3 separate regions of the Homo sapiens genome follow, and all the other regions are linked to region 3. The links are contacts of gene promoters, found by promoter capture Hi-C in blood cells and fetal thymus (Javierre and others, 2016). All regions are on one chromosome and are shown on one strand. Each heading gives the region's core, a stretch centred on a gene start or on the middle of the fragment in contact. The rest is flanking DNA. Distances are from core to core; before and after follow the strand shown. Region 1 holds the start of SMARCB1 (SWI/SNF related BAF chromatin remodeling complex subunit B1). Region 2 holds the start of C22orf15 (chromosome 22 open reading frame 15). Region 3 holds the start of GGT5 (gamma-glutamyltransferase 5).

Region 1 (2,763 bases), core at 8-2,507, 460 kb before region 3:
AGGGTCTCCCTTTGTTGCCCAGGCTGCAGTGCAGTGGTGCAATCAGCTCACTATAACCTTGAACTCCTGGGCTCAAGGGATCTTCCCCTCTCCACTTCCCAAGTAGCTGGGGCTACAGGTGCACACCGCCATGCCACACCCAGCTTATTTATTTTAGAATTTTTGTAGAGACAGGGTCTTGCTGTCTTGTCCAGTCTGGTCTCAAACTCCTGGCTTCAAGTGATCCTCCCTGCCTTGGCCTCCTAAAGAGTTGGGATTACAAGGCCGGGCGCAGTGGCTCACACCTGTAATCCCAGCACTTTGGGAGGCCGAGGGGGGCGGATCACGAGGTCAGGAGATCGAGACCATCCTGGCTAACATGGTGAAACCCTGTCTCTACTAAAAATACAAAAAATTAGCTGGGCGTGGTGGCGGGTGCCTGTAGTCCCAGCTACTTGGGAGGCTGAGGCAGGAGACTCCAGCCTCAAAAAAAAAAAAAAGAGTTGGGATTACAGGCATGAGCCGCTGAGCCCAGCCACAGCTGCAATTTCATTAGATTGAACGGTGTGAAATCATCAGTAGTGGGCCACTGTTTTACTCCCTGCATTATTCAATCATGATTGCTTTCAGACTTTCATTAGTTTCACTAGCTTCGCGCTGTAAGAGCCAAGAGGCAGAGCCACAGGGCTGGGCTGCCTGGTTTCACTCCCCACTGCAGGGCTCGGTTAAGCAGAGTGTAGGCTAAGAGAGGAATGGAGAAGGTGGAAGGTGTCTCTCCCTTCCAACGCTCATCTGATGCACCAGCCAAACCAAATACCACCTGGGCCTTTGAACATTGCCAAGCCTCATCCGCTGTTGTCATTTTGCCCACCTCCACAGCTGCAGGGACAGCCGTAGGCCCGGAACTGGGATATCTCTTCCTAGGGGCCTGCCTATCTGCTCAGCTGCACTGCGTTTTAGGGGTGGGGAAGCTAAGGCACGAGATTGGGGTCCCAAAGCATGCCCAGACCACCCAGGCTTCCAGATACTAGGTCCTCCTCCTTCAGGCCTCACTTCGTTGCTTTTCCCCTGGGCTCAGTTCCAGTCCTGGCTGTAAGACTGGGAAAGCCACTGCTTGAGTCAGGACCTCATTGGCTATTTTTGTCCGTGAGAAGTCCTCTACACCACGACTTGGGAGGCAGCCTGGGAGAAAGAGAAATTAGTCGTGGCTCCTTTAAGGGGTCCGCGGAGGCGCGCCCGGCCTTTTGTTTGAGCGGCGGCGCGCGCGTCAGCGTCAACGCCAGCGCCTGCGCACTGAGGGCGGCCTGGTCGTCGTCTGCGGCGGCGGCGGCGGCTGAGGAGCCCGGCTGAGGCGCCAGTACCCGGCCCGGTCCGCATTTCGCCTTCCGGCTTCGGTTTCCCTCGGCCCAGCACGCCCCGGCCCCGCCCCAGCCCTCCTGATCCCTCGCAGCCCGGCTCCGGCCGCCCGCCTCTGCCGCCGCAATGATGATGATGGCGCTGAGCAAGACCTTCGGGCAGAAGCCCGTGAAGTTCCAGCTGGAGGACGACGGCGAGTTCTACATGATCGGCTCCGAGGTAGCCCGGGGCGCGTTCTCGCCCTCCCCGGGCTCGGCCCCGCGGGAGCCCCGGGGCGGGCCCATGCGCCGAGAGCGCGCGTCTCCATTCATCGGGGCGGGCGGGCGCGCGCGCGCGCGCTCGGGGCTGTGGGGCGTGGCCTAGTGGGCGTGTCGGGTGTGGCCCCCGCCCCCTCATCGACCTGGGATTTCCTTACTTATTTCGCCGAGGTCCGCCGCCTTCAGTGCTGCCAAGATTTTGGCGCCGCGAGGGGCCCCAGTGGTTCCGCGCTGGGTTGGTTTCCAGTCAGACGCAAAGAAACGGGATATTGAGTTAGCCCCTGCGACGCTTGGGGGACTGCACTGCTGCCTTTGACCCTTTTTAGATGTCGTAAATTTCACGTGCACCCCTCCCCGTATTGCTACTTGTGGGAACCTCAAATGGCAGGCTGGAAACCCTGGACTTAGTGAGGGCTCATCCCCATTGTGTTTGTTGCCTCTTAGGTGAGCAGTGGAGGTCTTTTGACCTTTGTTTACCGGTGAAGAAACAGATTGGAGGAAGATGTTTGCTTTTGGGTGAATAAGGGCCCCATGCCTAAGCTAGATCTTTCAGCAGTTCTGAAGCGATTGACACTTTCCATATCTGTGAACTGATTCTGAATTATTACAGGGGAAAGAGCCTAAGGATGTTTAACCCTTAACTAGAGTGGCTGCATTTTGTTGCATCAACTGGATGACTGACTTCAGGAAAACTCTACTGGCCTTTGAATGGGTGTTTGTTCCAAGTCTATTAGGTTCTTGTTTTTTGTTTTTTATAGAGACAGGGTCTGGCTATGTTGCGCAGGCAGGTCTCCAACTCCTGGGCTCAAGCAGTCTGCCCGTCTGGGTCTCCCAAAGTGCTAGGATTACAGGCATGAGCCACCACACCCGGCCATATATTAGGTTTTTACAGATTGTCTCAAACTAGCCTTTTTTGCTCCAAAGGCAGTCCCCAGCTAGTATATGTTACCTTTTTAAAAAAATTATGGATATACAGTTCAGATGTACAAATGTCAAGCAGTAGAATCTCATGTAAGGAAGTAAGTGCCAATCCTGGAGAATTAAAGCTATCATGAAATGCCAAGAGTTTCTTCTCCTTATAGCAGTTTTTAGTATCATATTCCAGCATTTTATTCGTACTTTATTTTCTTTTATTTTTGAAAAAAGATCTCACTTTGTGCAGTGGTGTGAT
Region 2 (2,700 bases), core at 134-2,633, 480 kb before region 3:
CACAGTGGCTCATTCCTATAATCACAGCACTTTGAGAAGCTCAGGCAGGTGGATCACCTGAGGTCAGGAGTTCGAGACCAGCCTGGCCTTCCTTATGTCTACTAAAAATACAAAAAATTAGCCAGGGGTGGTGGCTGGCGCCTGTAATACCAGCTACTCCGGAGGCTGAGGCAGGAGAATCGCTTGAACCCGAGAGGCGGAGGTTGCAGTGAGCCGAGATTGCGCCACTGCACTGCAGCATGGCTGACAGAGCGAGACTCATTCTCAAAAAAAAATAAATAGGTCAGGCTTGGTGGCTCAGCACTTTGGGAGGCCAAGATGGGCGGATCATTTGAGGTCAGGAGTTCGAGACCAATCTGACCAATATGGTGAAACTCCATCTCTATTAAAAATACAAAAAAAGGCCGGGCGCAGTGGCTCACGCCTGTAATCCTGTAATCCCAGCACTTTGGGAGGCCGAGGCGGGCAGATCACGAGGTCAGGAGATTGAGACCGTCCTGGCTAACATGGTGAAACCCCGTCTGTACTAAAAATACAAAAAAAATTAGCTGGGCGTGGTGGCGAGCGACTGTAGTCCCAGCTACTCAGGAGGCTGAGGCAGGAGAAAGGCGTGAACCCGGGAGGCGGAGCTTGCAGTGAGCCGAGGTCACACCACTGCACTCCAGCCTGGGCGAGGGAGCGAGACTCCGTCTCAAAAAAAAAAAAAAAAAAAAAAAAAACTAGCCAGGTGTAGTGGTGCACACCTGTAGTCCCAGTTACTTGGGAGGCTGAGGCAGGAGAATCGCTTGAACTCGGGAGGCGGAGGTTGCAGTGAGCCGAGATCGTACCACTGCATTCTAGCCTGGGTGACAGGGAGACTCCATCTCAAAAAATAAAAATTTAAAAAACACCAATAATAATAATAATTAATAAACTTAATAAATAAATAAATAAAAGACAGGAAATGACGGTGAGAACCGGTGTGAGGGACTAGCTAGTGGCCAGTGCTAACAAGGAGGTGCTTGTGACCTGCTATGGACCTGGAAGCGACTAGGGCTGAGTACAAAGGGGGCAAAGGAATTTGGGGGTGATGGAAATGTTCTGTATCTTGACTGTGGTGGTGGTTATATGAGAGTTGGCATAACTTTAAAACACCAGAAAGGGTGAACTTTACTGTACAAGTGGTTCACAACTGCAATCCCAGCACTTGTGGGAGGCTGGGGCTGGAGAATTGCTTGAGCCAAGTTCGAGACCAGCCTGGGCAACATAGGGAGACTGTCTCTAAAAAAAATCAATCCCAATGATGGCATTCCCCGCCTCAGGGAATGCCAGCCCCCACTTCTTCTGTCACCTCTCCCCCATGGGCCCCGTTAACGGATACAGGGAGGAAGGCATTTCCTGCCTAGATGTCTCCGCCCCCACTGCCATGGAGACCAGCTTGGAAGCTTAGGGGAGCTGCTGTGGCCCAGGGCTCAGTGGGGAGGAAGAGGAGGCCAGGAGTCTTGGACTAGCTGCAGGGTTTGAGCTAGGCTGAAGCAGCAGAACCACAGAGGTGGCTGAGCAGGGGCCTGGCCCTGGGACCCAGCCATCCACACTCACACATCCACTTCTCCCTCCAGAGCCCGGCCCTGAAGCAGGTCTCTGCTCCACGCTTTTCCTTAGTTGGGGAATCGAGAGTTGGGGGATCAAAGCCCCCCACATCTCCCTCACCCGCTGCAGCTATGTTTATCAAGGTGATGTTTGGGGGTAAGTGGGGTCCCCTGTCTTGGTAGGCGGATAGGGGGATGAGCACACTCAGAGGCGTGCTTCCTTCCGCCCTTGCGGTGGGTGGGGAGGCAATGGCGGGAAAGGGGGGTGGTGCACATGGCGGGGGTCGTCGGGGAAGCGGCTCTGTGAGGAGGCGAAGCCAGCACCTGGAGCGAGTCCCTTAAAGGGAAAACCCGAGCTGAGTCCTGCTCATTCACAAGGGTTCCTCTCGGCCAGAGACCGCCGCATTACCCTGGAGCAGGTTTTTAAGCCGCACAATCTCTTCGCCATTCAATCCGTGATCCTCAAGCTTCAGCGTGCATCAGACACCTGAAACTCTAGCCACAGTTGCAGGGTCCCCGTGCCTCTGGCTGGAGGCGGGTCGGCCCTGTGCGGTAGCGGAAGGGAAGAGAGGAGCCGGTGGGTGCGGAGGGCGGGGACTGGCTGGGTCCCGTGGGGGCGGGTCCCGGGAGGAGGCTGGGCTGGCGCCCACTTCGTGCTTTGCAGGACTCAAGAGACCAACACTTGGGAGTCACCACACATGGGAGAAAAGTCACCACACATGGGAGATGGATGGAGGGTTCTCCAAGGCAGTTTAAGCAACAGATGTTGGAGCTGTTATGCCCGGGGCACAGTCTTAGCCCATAGGCCCAGTCGCAGCTCTGGGAAAGGGAGAGATGGGAGGGAGAGACAGAGGACCCCGATTTGGAGGAAGGTAAGAGATCTCACAGGCTCACCTTTGCCCCTCTCCACAGCTGGCTGCTCGGTGCTGGTGAACACCTCTTGCAGGCTGGTGAACCTCACCGCCCACCTGAGGCAGAAAGCAGGGTTGCCCCCAGATGGTGAGGAGACAGGGAGGAGAAGGAGGGGCTGAGGGGTCCCAGGCAGGGGTGCCAGCCCTGCCCAGTCTCTCTCCATGTCCTCCCAGCGACCATTGCTCTCCTGGCTGAGGATGGCAACCTAGTGAGCCTGGAG
Region 3 (2,700 bases), core at 48-2,547:
CCAGGACACCAAGTATCAGTCACTCAGCTCACGAGACCCAGGCCCTGACTCAGGGAGAGAGGATGTGAGGGGTGGGGCACCGGGCTCCTCAGGACTGAGAGACCCGAGATGTGGCCCCAGGCTGGGTGTTGGGGCAGACTGGCTATGGCAGCATTGTGTGTACCCCAGCAGGCCAGTACCCACGCAGGGAGCCTCCAAACCCCTTCACCCATGACCCTGGGAGAAGACCGCAGCCTTGGAGAATTGGCCTCACTGAAGGGGCCTGCACCGGCCAGCAGGGTCAGGCGGGGCCAGACAGGTTCCCACCTGGGATATGCAAATGGGCCTCCTGAATCCTGGAGCCAGGCGTGGACTCACACACCACCATTGTCCCCAAGTCCCCATCTGCCCCACGAGCACACCCTGCCACCTGTTCTGTGCAAGGGCCCTGAGGCTGCCTCCTTGCGCCCAAGACCTGCAGGTGCTGAAGCCCACACACACACGGCTCCTGCTTCCTGGGCCAGTGCACGTGCACACACACACACACACACACCCACCCACACATACACATACCCACACACAATCACACACATTCACACACACCCACACTCCCCACACTCACACTCACATACACTCACACACACCCACACATGCATGCAATCACACATACCCAGACACTCACACACACACCCACACATACATTCACTCACACACACACACACACACACGCCTTCTCCAGGAGGGGCTGGCTGCCAAGGGCCACCCAGCTTCCTCCCACGTCTCACTCACCGTCCAATATCCGAGCAGACCTTGGAGTCGGCGGCAACAGCAGCGTGGGCAAAGGCCTGGGGGCCACATGGGGCCTGGTGTCGAGAGAGGACCACAGCCAGCACAATGACAGCCAGCGCCAGCCCCAGACCCAGCAGGACTAGGCTGACCGTGGCCCCGTAGCCCCGGGCCATGGCTCTGCAGCCCAGGAGGAGAGGGGCGGCTGGTGGGCAGACGGAGGGACGGATGGGTGGGCAGATGAATGGACAAGAAGATGCACAGAGTCACAGGTAATTGGACAGATGGACAAACAGGTGGGGGCTGAAGACAGACACGAAGATGGATCGACAGATAGGCCAGATAGCTAGACAAAGAGGACAGTAAGAGAAAGATGGTCAGATAGACAATGGGACAGAGATGGGCTTACAGATGGGCGGACAGACAGACAGGTCTGAACAGCGGGCTGCCAGATGGACAGATGGGTGAATGGACAGATGGCTGGCAGCTGTGGCGAGCTGCTGCCCTCACCAAGTGCACACTACGGAGTGGCCAAACTCACGCCTCAACTTCTGGTTTTCAGCTCCTGCTTGTTGCTGGCAGGAGGCCAGGCAGCAAAGCGTCTGAGGGGAGTTTTCCTTGCCTAGAGGAGTCAGCTGCTGTGTTAACTCCCTCACTGCTAGTAGGTCCAAAGGCCCCACCTACCGCCCGCCAGAGCCCAGGGTCACACTGTCGCAATGTGCAGGAGAACTTGGTGCCTGCTGCACTGCGGTTGCCAGGTAGGGGCAGGGCTCCCTGGAACCTCCACACCATTCCCCGGGTTCCCGGCAGCTCTGGGAAAGCAGAGCTGGGGCCGCTCAACTCTCTCCCCTGGATCCGGCAAGGCTGCCCCCCTCCCAGAGTGGAGCCCTGCTCCCCAGCTCCCATCTCTATCCCCTAACCCTCTCCTCATGGCCCAGCCTAGTCAGCATCAAGGTGGAGCTGAACAGAGGCAGAGGGAGGGGGACACAAGGTGGTGTCACTTAAAACTTGGGTTCAAGTCCTTATGCTTCTGCAGCCTGGCCTGGGTCCCACAACTCCCCAGGGTGGCCAAGGGCTTCCCAGTCTGCACAGAGGACAGGGGGACTTGACAGCATCAAATGCTGGTGACTACAAGACGCCCATGTGGGGAATGCAGACAGACCATGCCTCTAGCCCTTGGCATCCGGGACCATTTGTCCAGGACTTGCTGTCCTGGAAATGCAGCATGGACCTCCAGGGAGGGAGGCTGTGTGGAGGCCACGCCCTGCCTGTAGCTCTTTCCCACCCTAGCTGCGGGTCTGCTTCCCTGAATCCAAATCCGCTATTACTGTGCTGGCAGCGCAGCCTCTCTAGGGACACTGGCCTGGCTCTGTTCTCCCCAGGCCTCAGGGTGCCTAAATGGGAGGCAGCCAGGAGAGTGAGGACCCACTGAGGGGCTCTGTTGACCAGGCTCAGCAGGGGTGCAGGTGATGTGGGCTGGACTTCTTCCCACGTGGCCCCCACAGTCCTCCCCGCTTCCTCCCCAGCTGAACACTGCCTGCTCCAGATGTCTACACCTGGAAGCCGGGCCCCCCCATCTGGGCAGCAGAGAAACTGAGGCACAGAGACAGACTGTGTCCTTACAGGCCACACAGCCTGCCAGGCCCCTATGTCCAGCCAGAGCCCCTGGTCAGCCTGGACTGGAATGATTGTTTAGAGGCAGGCTGTTCCCACGGCTGCCTCTCGCGGTGGGGGGCCTGTGGATGCCTCCTCCCGCCCCCACCCGACTCCCAAGCCTCAGTGACATTGCTCAACCAGGAGCTGAAGTGCATTCCTGGGCTTAGGCCAGCCCACCCACCCACCCGCTGCAGTCCTGGAAGCTCAGAGGCCTGGGCAGCAGGAACAGTGGAGACAGCAGCGTGGGGGACGTCCCCCCTCCTCTCCCCACCATCCTGG

Evidence for each region. Contacts are between HindIII fragments. The CHiCAGO score rates a contact against its expected background, and 5 or more counts as called.
Region 1: a contact is called between the fragment with the promoter of SMARCB1 here and the fragment with the promoter of GGT5 in region 3, in 6 of 17 cell types (M0 macrophages, naive CD8 T cells, fetal thymus and 3 more). The highest score is 7.3, in M0 macrophages.
Region 2: a contact is called between the fragment with the promoter of C22orf15 here and the fragment with the promoter of GGT5 in region 3, in 1 of 17 cell types (monocytes). The highest score is 5.3, in monocytes.

The regions. Positions count from the first base shown.
Region 1 is chr22:23,785,709-23,788,471 of GRCh38, forward strand. It overlaps SMARCB1 (SWI/SNF related BAF chromatin remodeling complex subunit B1), which reads left to right and starts at 1,258. Exons shown (of 9, transcript NM_003073.5): 1 at 1,258-1,554. The coding sequence starts at 1,462. The HindIII fragment of the contact is 10,586 bases long and covers 1-2,763 here.
Region 2 is chr22:23,761,607-23,764,306 of GRCh38, forward strand. It overlaps C22orf15 (chromosome 22 open reading frame 15), which reads left to right and starts at 1,384. Exons shown (of 6, transcript NM_182520.3): 1 at 1,384-1,725; 2 at 2,481-2,567; 3 at 2,654-2,700. The coding sequence starts at 1,701. The HindIII fragment of the contact is 2,909 bases long and covers 1-1,422 here.
Region 3 is chr22:24,243,785-24,246,484 of GRCh38, forward strand. GGT5 (gamma-glutamyltransferase 5) reads right to left here and starts at 1,298. Exons shown (of 12, transcript NM_004121.5): 1 at 769-1,298. The coding sequence starts at 941. RefSeq lists enhancers at 79-634, 635-1,190, 2,303-2,700. The HindIII fragment of the contact is 5,279 bases long and covers 1-2,700 here.